2 separate regions of the Homo sapiens genome follow, and region 2 is linked to region 1. The links are contacts of gene promoters, found by promoter capture Hi-C in human tissues and cell types (Jung and others, 2019). All regions are on one chromosome and are shown on one strand. Each heading gives the region's core, a stretch centred on a gene start or on the middle of the fragment in contact. The rest is flanking DNA. Distances are from core to core; before and after follow the strand shown. Region 1 holds the start of MSL1 (MSL complex subunit 1). Region 2 has its middle 3.0 kb from the start of GSDMA.

Region 1 (5,617 bases), core at 1,621-4,120:
TCCACAATCAGCAGAGAACCCCCCTATCAGCCATACTCTCATTTCATCTCCTTGTATATGTTTTGATTCACAGCCCTTAACCACCATTTGTGGGTGACATTTCCTTGATTTTTTTCTCCTTCACTGGTCCTTCTCTTCCCACTCCCCCCATACAAGGATATGATGTGTTGTAATTACGGTACCATCACACCCCTAGACTGCAGTACAGTCTGAGCAGTGCCACCTCCATGTTGAGTAACTTCCACAAATCAACACCATGAGATATTTTAATGAGACCTGCCCCAGCTCCCAATCCACCTTGCAGAATGCATTCTCCAATAAAACAGCCACCCGATGAGATTCATTTGGAAAGCAAACAAAATGAATAGCCGCTTGCTCCCTTGCTCAGCTCTTAGCGCACACGACGCCAGAGAGAAAGAGGAGAGAGGGAGAGATGAGGACGGCGGGGAGGGAGGGAGAGAGAGAGAGAGAGAAAGGGAAAGAGACAGGGAGGGAGGAAGAGGGAGGGAGAGAGGGAGAGAGAGACTGCTGCAGCCTGAACACAACAATTGTAGAAACCATGTTTATTTTTAGGCAGCTGTAAGGTATGCTAGCACAGTAATACCCCCCACCCCAGCTTCCCTCATATCTGAAGGAATATGTTTTAACGCAGAGATGCCCTTAACTACTGCTGCAGTAAAAACAAGCCTGTGTCGTCCAAGCTCCTCAGAAGTAAAGAAATAATAAACGACTTTCCTACTCCCTAAGATTCTAAAATAAGGATGGGGAGGTCTATTTAATACATTTAATAAGCTTACTTTCCCCTGATGCCCTAAAATCTTCCAGTTTCAAACACCATGCTTATAAAAGGGACCTGGTCAGTGGGTCATGTATTAGAACTCAGGTTCCTATTAAAAGCTGTCTGAAATCAAAGGCAGTGATTCTCTTAATATCATTTAAGAAAACTAAAATAGGATTCCACGTAAATCACCTCTACCCCTGTGCCCACTAAAAGGCCTACTGCCCTCCTATCTAAAGATGCTGCAGCAGTGGTGAAAGCAACAGCTGCTTGCTACAGCCCTCTCCTCCACCGTGCATTTCTAACGCAATAGCTCTTTAATTTAACCCTTCCATAAGGACACAACACCTACACCCCACCCTTTCATTTTTAACCCCTCACAGATCACGTCTTTTTCCACTAAACGTCTTTCCCACACGTCTGGGGCTGTCATTTTAAATTAACCCTTTGGCACCTGAAACCCCTCCCCCTCCCCCTGAGAGGTTGCCCTTTAACCCTTCCCTCCAACCCAACGTGTCTGTGAGCCTGGCTCCCAGAGACCCAGCGCCTAAGATACTCCTTTGCCGGTGGCCAACCTCCTTTACCCCTAACCCGGGGGTGCCTTAACCTCCTACAGCCCCCTTCCCCCGAGCATGCGCACAACTCGCTCCTCGGCCCGAATGCAGATTAACCCCTCCCGTACCGTGTCTCTCTCTGACTTCAGCTCCTCGATCTCCTTTTCCTTGGCCTGCAGCTGCTGCTGCTGCTGTTCGATGAGGTCCAATTGCAGCAGAAGGATCTGTTTGAGGCAGGCGGCCTGACTGGAGGCTCCCGAGCCGCCACCACCCCCGAGAGGGCTCTTCCTCATACTCTTCCATCTGCCCTCGCTGGCCGCCAGGGTCCCGGCGGTGGCGGTGGGCGCGAGGGGTGGCGGCCCGGGCAGAGGTAGTGGTGGGGGTCCCGCCGGGTCCGAGGCGGTGGCAGCGGGGGAGGCCGCCCCACCCTTGTCCCCAGCCCAGGGCGTAGGCTCTTTGGCCGCCGCCACGAGAGAGCCCGTCTGAATGGGCAGCACCGCCTGATACTTGGGCCGGGGGCTGCAGCCGGCTCCGGCTGCGGCAGGCTCCCCCCCAATGCCGGCTTGCTTGGTGGCCGGGGGCGGACAGGGCAAGGGCACCGAACCGCCCCAGCTCTCTTCCTGCTGCCCGGGGGCCGCCCCGGCCGGGAGTAACAAGCCCCGGCCCTTGCCGCCGCAGCCGGCCGGGGAAGGCGCGGGGCTCCCGCCCTGGGAGGAGGCCAGCGGGGGCCCCGGCTCCTTGAGCTTACGGTGCCGGGGGAGGAAGTGGGCTTCGGCCGCCCCAGGCTCGTCCTCGGGCCCGCCCAGCGCCGCAGCCCGCTCGTAGTCCAGTCGCTGCTCAGGATTGCCGCCGGCAGGGGCCGCGGCCGCCTTGAACACCGCGGATCTCATGGTCATAGTGGTCCGGAGCAGCGCCGGGCACCGAGGCGGAGGAGGGGGTGGGGAAGGGGCGAGGTGCGGGGGGTCGAGGACTGAGGGGGGGGAGGGGAGTTTGGCGGGCTCGCCTCAGCAGCGCGGCAGCAGGCCTCCGCTAGCGCGGCTCCTCCGGGGCCCGGGCGCCATCCCGCCGGCGTGCGGAGACGTGGAGGCCGCGGCTGAGGCCCGCCGCCGGCCCATGGGGGCCTCGCCGCCGCCTCTGCTGCCGCCGCCGCCGCCTTCGCCTCAGAGGCAGGAGCTCGCACCCAGCCGCCCCCGAGCTCATCCCCGGAGCTCGCTTCGGCCCCCCCTGGCCCGGCCGGGCCCGCCTCGTCTCCCCACCCCGCACCCCCCCTTCCCCGCCCCGGCCCCCCGCCCCGGAGCTCGCCTCAACCGCCCCGAGCCTCCATTTCCCCCCCCTCCTCCTCAGGAGGGGGTGGAGGGCTGGGTCCGCCCAAAGCCCTCCTACTCCGGGAGAGGGGGTCTGTCGCCTCTCCCGGGGGTCTCCGCGGCTCGGGGTCCCCCTCCCCCACAGTCACCCCCGGCGCCTCAGCGTTTCCCTTTAAAAAAACGGAGCCGCTCGTAGCCGCCACCGCCGCAGCCGCCGCCAACCGGAGGACGCATGCGCGGGGAGGGGAGCGGGCGGGAGTGCACCGGGAGCCGAGAGGAGGGAGGCGGGCCGCGCTATTGTGAAAGGGGCCGCCGCCGCCTCGAGGGGGGCAGGGAGGGGACCGCGGGGGCCGGGGGCCGGCGAGGGGAGGCCGGGGCTGAGGGGCGAGGACCGAGGAGCGCGCGGAGGAGCGGGGTGAAGGTGGGCTGCCGAGGGAGGGGCGAGCCGGGGGAGGGTCTGGAGGGGGAAGAAGGGCGAGGGCGGCCGCGGGAAGAAGGGGAAAGCGGAGGCTCCCCGGGAAAAAAGCGCGAGAGAATGGAGTTGAGAGGAAAGAAGGAGGATACAGGCGGCCAATGTGTGGCCTACGTGGGAGCGCCCCGAGCGCTCCACGTCCCCGGCCTGCGCCGGGCGGCCCCTTCCCCGGGCATCTTGGCAACGCGCCTGGCCCAAGCCGGAGGGGCCCCGCGGCCCCGCACGCCTCCTGGACCAGTCAGGATCCAGGCTCCTCTTTGAGCCCGCGGGTGTTTCATGGGGGTAGAAGTCTAACCCCTCCACCCCCTCTCCTCCCCAGCAGTCCCACGCGGGTATGGGAGAGAATGAAGTTCTTTGTCTCTAAGGGATTCAAACCAGAAACGGAGGGACCTCTGGTTCCCAGAGGGAGGAAAATCCATGATGTCTGCTGCCCAGGGAGCTATTGCCACCGCCTCCTTGGGATGAAGTATTGCCAGCTACCAACAGTTCCTTCCCAACGGCCATCTTCCAGCCTTCTTAAACGACTCCTAGCATCTTCGGGAGGCTCCTGAAGGACTGAAGCAAAGGAAATCTCTGAAGGGATTTAGTCCTTGAAAGGGAGTAGGGATACTTAGGGTGTTCTGTGTTGAGCGCTTCTTCCTATCTCTCCAGCTTCATGTATGTGTGTCTTTATGTCCAAGCAATTGAGCCAACAAGTCCTCAGAATTCCTTGTGAAAAAAACGTTTTTTTTTTTTGAGACGGATTCTCACTCTGTCGCCCAGGCTGGAGTGCAATGGTGAAATTCAGCTCACTGCAACCTCCGCCTCCGGGGTTCAAGCGATTCTCCTGCCTCAGCCTCCCGAGTAGCTGGGATTACAGTCACGCGCCACCACGCCCAGCTAATTTTGTATTTTTAGTAGAGACAGGATTTCTCCTTGGTCAGGCTGGTCTGGAACTCCCGACTTCAGGTGATCCGCCCGCCTCGGCCTCCCAAAGTGGTGGGATTACAGGTGTGAGCCACCGTGCCCAGCCCTGAAATAGTCTTAATTGCTTGTTTTTCTTTTTTGTCTGAGGTGTGCTTTTTAAAATCTCTATGGAGATGGAGAAGACTGACATTCTCTGGCCTGATGTGAAAACCTCTCATTAAAACTGTGTCTGTGCTTTGTGGGCTGAAAGCATGAAACACTGGAAATTTTAAACAAACGTATGTGAATGTGTTAAGAAGCCAAGAGTCCGGCCCTCTTTCACCAGACTGTATGGCCTCAGATCAGCAAGGGAAGTATTGAGCTTAGGGACACCAAGTAATGGAGTGAGCAGGGATGAGAGGGCACATAGAATGTGGTGATCTCTTTCCATGTCAAGGCTTGTGTGTTTGTGGCACTGGGGTCTTGCTGTGTCCCCAAGGCTAGAGTACAGTGGCACAATTATGGTTCACTGCAGCCTCAACCTCCAGGGCTCAAGTGATCCTCCCACCTCAGTCTCCTAAGTAGCTGGGACAACAGGCTTGGGCTGCCACACCTGGCTAACTTTTTATTTTTTTGTAGAGACGGGCCTTTGTAATACCAGCCTTTGTTGCCCAGGCTGGTATTGAACTCGCTCAAGCGATCCTCCCACCTGGGCGTCCCAAAGTGCTGGGATTATAGGAGTGAGCCACTGTGCCCAGCCTTCAGCGTCAAGACTTTCTGCACCATCTCTACGCTGACAGCTCCGTAATTTATATTTCTTTCTGGACTCATCCCCTAACTCCAGAATCATATATCCAACTGTCTAGTATACATACCCAGTTGGATGTCTAATAGGTATTTCTTTTTTTTGAGGTGGAGTCTTGCTCTGTTGCCCAGGCTGGAGTGCTGGAGTGCAGTGGCACGATCTCGGCTCACTGCGAGCTCCTCCCGGGTTCACGCCATTCTGCCTCAGCCTCCCCAGTAGCTGGGACTACAGGCGCCTGCCACTACGCCTGGCTAATTTTTTGTATTTTTTAGTAGAGACGTGGTTTCACTGTGTTAGTCAGGATGGTCTCATCTCCTGACCTCGTGATCTGCCCGCCTCGGCCTCCCAGAGTGCTGGGATTACAGGTGTGAACCACCGCGCCCGGCCTAGGTATTTCAAACTTACATCTAAAAATCAAGCTCCCGAATTCCTCCCACCCAAACACCCAAATACCACTTCTACAGTCTTACTCTTTTTTTTTTTTTTTTTTGAGACGGAGTCTTGCTCTGTTGCCCAGGCTGGAGTGCAGTGGCACAATCTCAGCCCACTGCAACCTCTCCACCTCCCGGGTTCAAGCGATTCTCCTGCCTCAGCCTCCAGAGTAGCTGGGATTACAGGCATGCACCACCATGCCCAGCTAATTTTTGTATTTTTAGTAGAGACGGGGTTTCACCATGTTGGTCAGGCTGGTCTCAAACTCCTGACCTCATGATCCGCTCACCTCAGCCACCCAAAGCTGGGATTACAGGCGTAAGCCACCGCGCCCAGCCCAGTCTTCCTCTCTTTGTCACCCCATTGCCTTTCAAAATGTATGTCCAA
Region 2 (5,617 bases), core at 1,253-3,752, 160 kb after region 1:
GTGGATTGAGAGGAGAGGAAGGCAGGTGCCTTTGGGAGGGGTGCAGAGGGAGGCAGTGGGAGTGTGTGTGTGTGTGTGTGTGTGTGTGTGACCAGGGATGGCATCTCTGTTCTGTCATCATCACCGTCATTGGGGAGCATCTCGGATTCATGGTGGGGGTCTGCGGGTGTCCTGGGATAGGGATTCCTGTATGTCCACACATTCCAGTAGAGAGCAGAGCATCTGCAGTGCCGCCCTCCATCCTGGGCTTGTCAGCCTGTGTGTATTGCTGCCTTACTCCATTTGTTTTAGCTACATAGACATAACTCTGATACCGCTAGAAGCAGATGTCTGAGTAGGCAGAGATGGAGTTAGACCAAATGGGTTTGTGTTGTTTAGTGTTCAGCGTCTCTGCTTCTCACAGAATATTGTATACACACATCAGCATATCCGTAGGCAGGGGCACGGCGATATTCATGGAAAAGCCCAGGAGGCTTGTCGTGGGCTTTCAGATGTTGCACCAGAGGTCACTCAGGTCCTCCTCTTAGCTTAAATCTCTGCCTAGAAGGAATTTTAAAGGAATTTCAAATGTTGCCTACATGGTCACATTGCTAGAGGACAGAATAAGGGACTTACAAGCAAGGCCCTTACAGTGTTGGGCCATGTGGCCATGCATATGTGCAGGTATAACCTGACACAGCAGAGCCTTCCTGCTCCCACCTTGAGGCTCTTCTTAGTACCACTCATGGAAAAAGAAACGCAACCCTGAATGCTGTGAAGAGTAAATTCCATCTTTTTTTTTTTTGAGAAGGAGTCTCGCTCTGTCCTCCAGGCTGGAGTGCAGCGGTGCAATCTCAGCTCACTGCAACTTCCACCTCCCGGGTTCAAACAGTTCTCTGCCTCAGCCTCCCGAGTAGCTGGGATTACAGGCATGCACCACCATGCCTGGCTAGTTTTGTATTTTTATTAGAGACGGGGTTTCGCCATGTTGGCCAGGAGGGTCTTGATCTCCTGACCTCATGATCCGCCCGCCTCGGCCTCCCAAAGTGCTGGGATTACAGGATGAGCCACTGCGCCCGGCCAATTCCATCTTTACTGAACGTTTCCTTGAGGGGCTGATGGTGAATGAGACTAGACCATTCCACACTTAGGAAAACTCCCTAAAATAGTCATTACTCCACTTGTGTCCCCAAAGTCTCATTCAATATGACAGATGCTCCCAAATATCTCTTCTCTATGTCTTGAAACAGAACAAAGCCAAGCCTTGCCTCTGCCTCTCTGGTCCCTGCTCACTCTCTTTTTCTTTACATACTTTCCCATCCACCCTACACCTTTTTGAGACGGGGCCTCGCTCTGTCACCCAGGCTGGAGCGCAGTGGCTTGATCATGGCTCACTGCAGCCACCCAATACTTCATCCTCCTTCCACAGCTCCAGCCATTCCAGCAATCAAATGTCCCTTCTCCTTAGGAGAGGCAGAGGTGGGGGCTTGAGTGTGTGGGAAGGTTGTCGTTAGGCTGGGTGCGGTGGTTCACGGCTGTAATTCCAGCACTTTGGGAGGCAGAAGTGGGTGGATCACCTGAGGTCAGGAGTTCGAGACCAGCCTGGCCAACATGAGGGAAACACCATCTCTACCAAAACTGCAAAAATTAGCTGGGCGTGGTGGCAGGTGCCTGTAATCCCAGCTACTTGGGAGGCTGAGGCAGGAGAATCACTTGAACCCGGGAGGTGGAGGTTGCAGTGAGCCGAGATCGTGCCACTGCATGCCAGGCTGGGCGACAGAGCAAGACTCCGATTCAAAAAAAAAAAAAAGAAAAAGAAAAAAAAGGTTGTCGTTAGTCATCTGGTCCCTATCACAAGCACATATTTACATAGAAACCTGCTGTGTGTGTTATAGTCCTTTCATCTCTGTCTGTTTTCCTGGATTTCCACCTCTTCCTCCTTGTATCTCTCAGCCACTACACTGACGTGATGCCTGCATTTCAGCATATAGTCCTGAGGCTGTGCAGTCTCCTTATGCCTTAATCAGCTCCAGGGAAGATAGTCCCACTCCCACCCTCTCACCAGCCTAGCATTGCCTCGGTCAGACTTTTGGGAGTTTCTTCCCAGTGACTACCCTTCTCCCACTGGCTGCAGGCCAAGGTTCCTAGTTTAGTGGATTCTGCAAAGATCTGGAGAACAGTGGCATCTAAAAGCCACACGTGGCTCTGCTCTCCCCAAGGACCTGCAAAGCCCATCTAGTCAGCTTTCTCTCCTCTGACCGGGAAGTCTTGCTTCTCTCATTTCTCCCGCCTTCAGTCTGATCTCAGAGCACTCTGCCGGGCCTGTCCTCACACTCCTGGTGTCGTCCCGACCCTGCCTGCACCACATTGTCCCATTCCCTCAGACTGCCTACTGGTATTCCAAGCAGGGGGCTTGGTGAGTTCAAGGCAGGGAGGAGATATATGGGCTTGTGGGGTCAGCCAGGTTGAAGTTCTTGTGCTTTTGGAATGAAAATATCCACATTTAGGCTTGTCTTGGTGGTGCTCCTTCCTCCCATCCAGGGTGCCCTGCCTCTTTTTCTTTCTTTTCTTTTTTTTTTTTTTGAGATGGAGCCTCACTCTGTCTCCCAGGCTGGAGGGCAGTGGTGTAATCTCGGCTCACTGCAACCTCCGCCTCCTGGGTTCAAGCAATTCTCCTACCTCAGCCTCCCGAGTAGCTGGGTTACAAGCACATGCCACCGCTCCCAACTAATTTTTGTATTTTTAGTAAAGACGGGGTTTCAACCCTGTTCGCCAGGCTGGTCTCGAACTCCTGACCTCAGGTGATCCACCCACCTCGGCCTCTGAAGGTGCTGGGATTACAAGCGTGAGCTACCGTGCCCAGCTGCGTCTTTTTCTTTTCTTTCTTTCTTTCTGTTTTTTTTTTTTTTTGAGACAGGTTCTCACTCTGTTGCCCAGGCTGGAGTGCAGTGGTGCAGTCATGGCTCACTGCAGCCTTGACTTCCTGGGCTAAAGGGATTCTCTCATCTCAGTGCCCGCTCCCTGCTCCCAGTACCTGGAACTATAGGCATGTGTCACCACACCTGGCTTTTTTTTTTTTTTTTTTGAGATGGAGTCTTGCTCTTATCGCCCAGGCTGGAGTGCAATGGCACAATATTGGCTCACTGCAACCTCCGCCTCCCGGGTTCAAGCGATTCTCCTACCTCAGCCTCCAAAATAGCTGGGATTACAGGCACGCACCACCACGCTTGGCTAATTTTTTGTATTTTTAGTAAAGACGGGGTTTCACCATGTTAGCCAGGATGGTCTCGATCTCCTGACCTCGTGATCTGCCCGCCTCGGCCTCCCAAAGTGCTAGGATTACAGGCTTGAGCCACTGCGCCCGGCCATGCCTGGCTCACTTTTTAATTTTTTGTAGAGAAGGGAGTCTCCCTATGTTGCTCAGGCTGATCTTGAACTCCTAGGCTCAAGCAGTCCTCCTGCCTCGGTCTCCCAAAGTGCTGGGGTTACAGGCGTGAGCCACTGCGCCCGGCCTGGGGCAGAATTTAAATTGTACTGGCGGATATTTAAGTTAGACTGCCTTGTAAGGACGCTTCAGGTCAATTAAAAGAGACAATAAGGAAGCAGGACCTGGTCATGCGGTGAGTGCTGCTCAGGCAGGCGGTAAACTTTGCTCTCTACCTCCCTCTGGTGGTCAATTAAGGTAGTGATGGACAATGATCACCTCTGATTTAGAGACCAAGCTTGTGACTATGTAGGGTTGTTAGGAGACAGGGATCAGGAGAGAGAATTGATTTAGGAGAGGAAGCCCCAGGCACCTGCCCCGTGGGACCATTGCTGTCTCTCTGACCCATAGAGTGCACTGCAGACAGACACAGTCATTGGGACAGGGCATTATTTCCTTACTCATTTTCCCTTTTGTTATTGTTTTTGTTGTTGTTTTTTGAGACCGAGCCTCACACTATTGCTGGCTGGAGTGCAGTGGCACAATCTCGGTTCACTGCAACCTCCGCCTCCCAGGTTCAAGTGATTCTCCTGCCTCAGCCTCCCGAGTACCTGGGACTACAGGTGCGCACCACCACACCGGGCTATTTTTTGTGTTTTTAGTAGAGGCAAAGTTTCACCACATTGGCCAGGCTGGTCTCGAACTCCTGGCCTCAAGTGATACACCCACCTTGGCCTCCCAAATTGCTGGGATTACAGGTGTGATCCACTGTGCCTGGCCTCCTTTTTATTATTGTTGATTTCCCCCTCAGCATGGGGTCAGAGAAAACAGAGAAAAGTAGATTATGGGCGTTCATGGAAGTCACAAACTCTGGCCAGAATGGGAAGAAGCTGGCACCCTGCGAGTTGGGAGGGCAAGGAGAATGTTGTAGGATTTGGAGCCTACTTGAAGGGTGCAGGATAACTGGAGCATTTGCAAGAAGTGATCCCTCACATGAACATATTCCCAGACCTGCCCTGAACAAAAGGAGGTGGAATGGTAATGGTTAGGGATGAAGACAGGCTGGGCTGGGGCATGACTGCCTGGTGGAGGCGCAGGAATAATGCTTCCTAGGGATGCTGTGTTTTATCTCTCATATGGGAGGTTGGATGTTTGGGGGTGCAGATCATAGATTGTGAGCTATACTTCCATAAATTCTCCTTTCTGAACAGAGTAAAGCTCCCATACTCTTTCCTTATTCTCTAAAAAGCTTTAATGTTTCTTCCCAAATTCCCAAATCAGCTTTGGAGTCCAAGACCTCCCCAGACTCTGGCTGAACAGACATCAGTGTTCAGCTCTAAGTGTGTCAAACTCAGCATCCAGCTTCAAGGTGTCAGCCCTCACTGCCCCCACCCCTCCACTGCCAATCCCCCTACCCATCAGCCCTGTCTGGGCAAGGAGGCCACTGCCAGCCTCCAGCCCAAACCCAGAGAACTCTCTTCTGTCAGGTGATCCTCCCAGCAACCCACCTCTTCCTGAGCCCCTGCTGATGCACGGGAGCATGTGTTGGAGCTTTTCTGTATTTTTTTTTCTTTTTCTTTCTTTTTTTTTTGAGATTGAGTTTCGCTCTTGTTGTTCAGGCTGGAGTGCCAATCTTGGCTCACTGCAAACTCCGCCCCCCGGGTTCAAGCGATTCTCCTGCCTCAGCCTCCCGAGTAGCTGGGATTGCAGATGCGCGACACCACACCCGAATAATTGTTGCATTTTCAGTATAGATGGGGTTTCACCATGTTGGCCAGGCTGGTCTCGAACTCCTGACCTCAGGTGATCCACCCACCTCGGCCTTCCAAAGTGCTGGGATTATAGGCATGAGCCACCGCGCCCGGCCACTATTCTGTATTTTCACCAGCTCCCCTAGGCTTGTCCTCAAGCCCCATCCTGCCTTCCCTAGCCATGGGCGGGCAGGGCTGGGGATCCCTGATGAATAAAATATCTGGAGAGCCAAGTGTTGTTGGCCAGCACCCGAAAGATGGAGAGGCTGGCTTACAGGACACAGAGCAGTGTCAAGGCATTTGGCTCCCAGGTGTAAGGAGGATCTGTCTCCTTGGTCTCCTTATATGTCAAGGCCACAGAGTCCCATCAGGGCCTGACCACTTTCAGCTCCTCACCTCAGAACCCCCTGAGCAGCTCAAAGTAAAGACAGAAGGGCTCCATCTCTCCCTGAAAGAAATTCTA

What was found. Contacts are between HindIII fragments. The study calls those that stand out against the background at their distance.
Region 2: a contact is called between a fragment that was not itself captured here and the fragment with the promoter of MSL1 in region 1, in 1 of the 25 tissues and cell types used here (hippocampus).

What each region holds. Positions count from the first base shown.
Region 1 is chr17:40,119,224-40,124,840 of GRCh38, reverse strand. MSL1 (MSL complex subunit 1) reads right to left here and starts at 2,870. Exons shown (of 9, transcript NM_001365919.1): 1 at 1,461-2,870. The coding sequence starts at 2,228. LOC124904001 (a long non-coding RNA gene) reads left to right here and starts at 3,001. Exons shown (of 2, transcript XR_007065752.1): 1 at 3,001-3,057; 2 at 3,428-4,312. RefSeq lists an enhancer at 1,391-2,029 and silencers at 1,730-2,179, 2,230-2,279, 2,380-2,519, 2,580-2,789, 2,830-3,029 and 1 more. The HindIII fragment of the contact is 12,972 bases long and covers 326-5,617 here.
Region 2 is chr17:39,957,150-39,962,766 of GRCh38, reverse strand. No RefSeq gene overlaps it. Among named protein-coding and RNA genes, the nearest start is that of GSDMA, 3.0 kb to the left of the region's middle. The HindIII fragment of the contact is 3,350 bases long and covers 828-4,177 here.